Regions from separate parts of the Homo sapiens genome. Here region 2 is linked to region 1. The links are contacts of gene promoters, found by promoter capture Hi-C in human tissues and cell types (Jung and others, 2019). All regions are on one chromosome and are shown on one strand. The core of a region is centred on a gene start or on the middle of the fragment in contact, and the rest is flanking DNA. Distances in the headings are between cores, read along the strand shown.

The links. Contacts are between HindIII fragments. The study calls those that stand out against the background at their distance.
Region 2: a fragment that was not itself captured here is called in contact with the fragment with the promoter of A1CF in region 1 in 1 of the 25 tissues and cell types used here (aorta).

The regions. Positions count from the first base shown.
Region 1 is chr10:50,884,082-50,887,022 of GRCh38, forward strand. A1CF (APOBEC1 complementation factor) reads right to left here and starts at 1,546. Exons shown (of 13, transcript NM_014576.4): 1 at 1,500-1,546. The HindIII fragment of the contact is 7,461 bases long and covers 1-2,941 here.
Region 2 is chr10:50,849,165-50,852,105 of GRCh38, forward strand. All of the region lies in intron 3 of A1CF (APOBEC1 complementation factor), which reads right to left. Among named protein-coding and RNA genes, the nearest start is that of A1CF, 35 kb to the right of the region's middle. RefSeq lists a silencer at 691-891. The HindIII fragment of the contact is 3,059 bases long and covers 6-2,941 here.

The DNA.
Region 1 (2,941 bases), core at 296-2,795:
ACACTGTTTCCTCAACTTACTTGACAATGGAGTTGCTTTTCTTTTGAGCCACATTTATTAACATCCACTGAATATAGTGTAGGAAATGTTGATATTTGAAATGACATAAAACCACCTTGGCATTAGTGCAGTAGAAAATAAGAACAAAGTATTTATAGTGTTTTAATATCCATTATGTCATTTTATAATGTTTGCCCACAACAATATTTCTTTTCCTTGCCAGCTGTCTTCTTTTTTCCCTTGAAATCGATAAATAGTAAAATAGAACAGTAAAATGTTAAGAGTTGTCTGAAATGGGCAGAGTCAATGTTATTCCAGAAAGTATGAACCTTATAAGTCATTTGTCTCTTTCTCTGTATTTAGCAGGGCAAAACCTTACTGCTTTGACAAATAAGTGATATCACTGTCATTTCCAGACCTGTGCTCCCATTGCATGCTCCATAGCACACGTTATAAAGAAAATTTCAGAGCAGACCAACACATTTTTTGATGCTCCTAAACTATAACTAGAGCTGAATTTGCCAAAATACGATCTATAAAACACTAATCCTGCACAATGTGCAAATAATGCTGTGTTCTTCATCTTCTTGGAGATATACAATACATATCTGAAAAGTCCTATAGTAAATAAAATTGTTTAGTTTGGAATCCTTTCTTCTTGGAATTTACATAGGTAATCATGACAAAAAGTCAGAGAGTTTAGGGGGTTTCTGGTAAAAATGGGATATTTTTGGTAAATGTCCAGATTGATTTCTTTCTTTAGCTAAAATACCATTATAATGTTTTTGGAGTACACAAAAAAAATATGTGAAAATATATCCACCTCAGCACAGTTGCCCAAATTGTGGAAACAATATAATAATTAGCCATTCCAAGGTTCAGATTTAACACACTGAAAACCAGTCATTTTCCATAATATTTTTTTGGTCAGAATCAAAAGTGAATAGTTTAAACATTCCTTTGGTTAGCAAGATAATGGCAGGCGGAATCGCAAGAGTTGTACCAAGACTTTCTTTTTTATGGTGGTAGTAGCTCTGGAGATAATTGAATATATGAAGTCTAAAGTATGATAGGAATTATGACCCACACACAGAACTCAAAATCTGCTGGTGATGTTAATACTATTTCTTTTGTTAATTATATTTTTGTTTCTCAGGGTCCTAGGATTGGGACAGGCACTCAACCACAACTCTCCCTGCTGTCTGGTTAGAGCTAAATAAACTTCTCACAACATTGGCTCCACTCTTGAACCCTCCGTGGTAAGTCTACAGAAATTTATTAAATCCTGGCAGCTATCTCATTTAGAGATTATATAATAATTCCAATATATTCTTTTGTTTTCTGGTTGTTTCATTAGTCTAAAAACAAGCTAGATAATTCTTTGAATTAGGCTCGATAACAGAAGAGGGTAAAAGCTGTTTTCACTGCATTCCCACTGATACCACAATACACAGTTTCACAGAGTTGAAATAGAAAAAAGCAAAACACATGGATCATACCTGAGTAATTTCAGAGATCCCCACCCGGAAAAGGTTTCCTTGATTATGGCGAATTCAACGTGTCACTCGGGTTATGCTCTAATCGTCATATCAAACTCCAAAGGTTCAGTGGCTTTAGGTTTGGTTTACAATTCCTGGGAGTTAAACTTTAACTCACCCTGTCTCTTGCATCCATGCAGCCCTTTGACCAGATAATTGGGTCACTACAGCCCAGATATAATCTACTAAAACTATCTTTGTTATTTGTTTATAAAATTAAAATAAATGTTGTAAAAATGTTGGGGTAAATATTATTTTGAAGATATTTTATTGGCTTATACGATATATTTAAAAAGTAAAAACTCACTGCAATTGGATACCTAAGCTTTCCTTTATGTTACTTCCTTTGTTTTTTACTATGTCAAAGTGATATTATAGCTAAGGTAATTTAGGAGAATATTTCTTTGTTTTACACTTTTTATATCACTATATTACATGGAGTAAAGTGTGGAGTTTTAGGTCAAGTACGTAGATAAATGCTGGCTTACAAACAGAAAATACACAAAGCATTTATATAACAAAGTAGATAGATTTAGGCCAGATCAGGTTGGGGAAAGCATACTTCTTTGTATACAAGCTGCTCATTTAGATTTTAAGAGGAGGCCACTGTGTGAGAAGCACAATAATCAGCTACATACTGGGGTTATATGATAGCTGATGCTATTGTTCATTGCCTGAAATCTCAGTGGTAACTGAGTTTCTTGAAAAATAGAGAAATGGTGCTTTCAGAAATACAAACATTATACTCTGAGTTCTCTGGTAAGAGCTGTAGTCTACAGAAGAAATCCCTAAGGGTAATAAAGCCCACATTTAAAAAAGGAAGAAGAACCAAAACCTTCCTAATTTTGAGTAAATTTTGGTTTAAGAGCTTGGAAACCACACATTCCAAAACTAGAATTAGAGGATACCCCTACTTGCCTTTAGTTCTAGTAAAAGGAGTCTAATTTTCTAGGAACCAACTATTAAGAGAGCATTTTTGTCTATAGAAAAGCACAAAACAAGCAATCCTTCTATAATATAGACGCAAAGGAAGATCCATCAATTAAGCACATCTATGAATATGTAAGAGAAGAGATAAAAGATACTGTTGGAATGCTAGTTCTGCTTACAGTTTTTAGTTCTCAAACATGGAATTATTTCAGTTCTCAAACATGAAATGATTTACCATTTTCCCATAGCAATGGATGATAGAGTTTAACAAAAACACCCCAGGAACAATTGTTTTACCCCAGAATTGCTCCCCTGATGTTAGACCTAGAGAAAGCATTTATGCCCCACCCAGCTAGATAGCTGAATGAGGGACACATCCCTCTACTTCCTTCTTGGGAAGGGATTCCCTCACAAAGTAGCCCTGATGGTTTCCTAGTGAAAGCTCAGTCTGGGGTTGCATGGTTCCCAATTGA
Region 2 (2,941 bases), core at 285-2,784, 35 kb before region 1:
TCTAAAGTTTTTGTTGCCTGAGAACAACACACAGTGCTGCAGGGAATATTCATTTCTAAATTGTATATAAAATAATTATCTATTTTGTATAGTTTGTTCACCTTCACATCTTGTTAAAATCAGTGACTTCATGTTGGTAAAATCTGTTTTTAGACTGGAATTTAGAAAGCAGAATTTATTTGGCTTAATATACTGTAGAAGTTGGCATTATTTCTATTGGCTATTTTTCTACAATTTTTACAAGATGTATGCAACTTGAATGCCAGATATAATGTTCCTAAAGTAGGAAGAATAATAAAAATTGTGTATAAAGACTAAATGAGTTGTTGAAATTTTGTGGAAATGTAGATTAGAAACAAAGACAGGAAAAGCTACGATATGAACATTATCAAATATTAATTTAGCTTTATCATCATATAGCCTAGTGTTTCTCAAAATATGTGAGGATGATATTAGATGGTTTATAGGTCAGTATTTCTTATTTTAATAATTATGCATTTATTTTAATGTACATTAGAAAAAGTATAATTAGCACACAAAACCTGTGGGTTTCTTACATATGTGAGAAAAAGTTTGCTTTTAACATAAACGACTAAAAATAGTGAGTTGATTTAATGAATTCTTTTTTTTTTTTTTTTTTTTTTTTTGAGACGGAGTCTCGCTCTGTCGCCCAGGCTGGAGTGCAGTGGCGCAATCTCAGCTCACTGCAAGCTCCGCCTCCTGGCTTCACGCTATTCTCCTGCCTCTGCCTCCCCAGTAGCTGAGACTACAGGCGCCTGCAACCATGCCTGGCTAATTTTTTGTACTTTTTAGTAGAGACGGAGTTTCACTGTGTTAGCCAGGAGATTTAATGAATTCTAAATAAATAATATTGGTGGCATGTATCTATGGCAAAAATCATGAAGAAAGATGCAAATGGCTCTTGGCTCTTGACTTTCATTTATTGGTTTCACTTTTTACAAAGCCCTGACATTTTATCTTTAAAAAATGTATGATATGGTTCTTCTAAGGAAACAACTATGAGTAAATTATGAGTCACCTTCCTGTTTCACTTTGGAAGATTGACCATTGAAAGTCTATTTCCAAGGAAATTAATCCCAATTTCACTTGAAGTTGTTAACTATCTTATGGAAGCAGAAGTAATTTATGTTTTCAAGTTGATGCATTTAATAATATCTTTTAATAATTTCCCTTTATGTTTAAGGATTATTCAGTATCAACGTTTGAAGCATTCAAAAGCAAATAGGCTTTTTTAAATGATGTGTTTTGCAAAGCTTTTTATAATGTAAGATTTTGGTCATTCATAAGAATATTGAATTTGAAAATAGACAAAATTAGAAAACAGAAAACATTTTGTCAGTGTTTTTCAAAATTACAAAACAGAAAACTTATTCGAGTGTTTTTCAAAATTAGAAAACAAAAAGCATTTGTGTGTGTGTGTGTGTTTCTGTAAAAGAGAACGAGTAAAATGCCAACTCACTTCTAAGACCCTCTGCTTACCTTTTCCAGCAAAGTTTGCAAAATGATGGACTGCAAAGCATTATTTCCTTTTTTGAGGCCAGGAATTGCTGTGCTCATGCTCGCTTCTGGCTCTGGGCATGTGCCCAGACACACTGCTTCCATCTATAGGAACCTCTAAATTCCTTTCAAGAAGTAATTAGGTGACAGCTTTAGTCATTCCTTAATCCGTTTGGAGCTTTTATCCTTAAAGAATGTGTAATTTATTCAATAGGCCCATCTAACTTTTTTGTTTACTTACAATTTGCCTTTTTGAATTAACTATTATTATGGCCGCTAGATCTGATTAAGTTATGCAAAACTTCCCATGTGCAGATAAAGACATAATAAAGAACATTTGGTTTGGGTAATTGCTCTTCTATCTTTTCCTAGTTCAACATATGCCAAACATAATCCCATCCAATGCACCGGGTTTGAGGCATGTAAGGAATTTTGTATAATCATTCTTCTCCTTACAACACTCTTGTGAATTTTAATTTCTGACAAGCTGAGGGACTTGGCAAGGCACTAAATCTATTCTGACTTTAATTATTTCATCTATGAAGGAGTAGGAGGGTTGACTAGGTGATTGCAGTAGTCCTGTAGGGGTGTGAGGGTGCTTGTAAAAGGAAGGCTGACTTTGATATCATGTTTAATGGAGGAAAATGTTCATAGGATGTTTTGTGAGTTAGTCAATTGGAGCCTTAAGAGGATATTGTAATTTTAAAAATCAGTGTATCTTCAATTCCATGTCCAATTGACATCTATTCTGTTAATTACCTAATGACTTTATGCATTGATTCACTTTGTTACTTAAATAAGCTTATATCAAAAAGAAAATATATTGTTCTTATAAGTGGAATATCAGTATCATTTCCCATAAATGGTCGGTGATTATAAAAACAATTGCAAACAAGGGAAATCATGGTCAACTTCTACATAGACACTGTCTACTAAAAGCTCTGCACTCTAGTTCTGCTCTCGGGACTTAAAAAGGTTAGCAGGGCCTGAAGAGGTGTTTAAATCATACCTCCAACAACTAACTTTCCTCACCTGGAAGCCTGAGAGAGAACTGAAAGTGGAATAATTCTCTCTATATGGGATTGGATGTTATTTAATGATGTGGACAATGTGCCATTTAACATCATCTTGGTTCCCTGCTCAGCACTTCTTTAACAATGTTACAAAGGATCACAGCTGCTGAAATCCTATACAAATTCATGATTGCAAGGAACTGTGATCTCAATAATTTCTTCTTTGCCTAGCTTGTTTGAAAGCTGTCTTTTGCATCTCATAATGCTAAGCTTTCAGGTTCTGAAGATGAAGAGTCACTTAATTTTAGTTGCCAATCAGTACTCACAAATGAATAGCACTTTAAGAAAAAGTGTGAATTTGTCAGCGTGCGCAGTCCAAAGTCCACAAGACCTGCTCATGCTTCTGCATA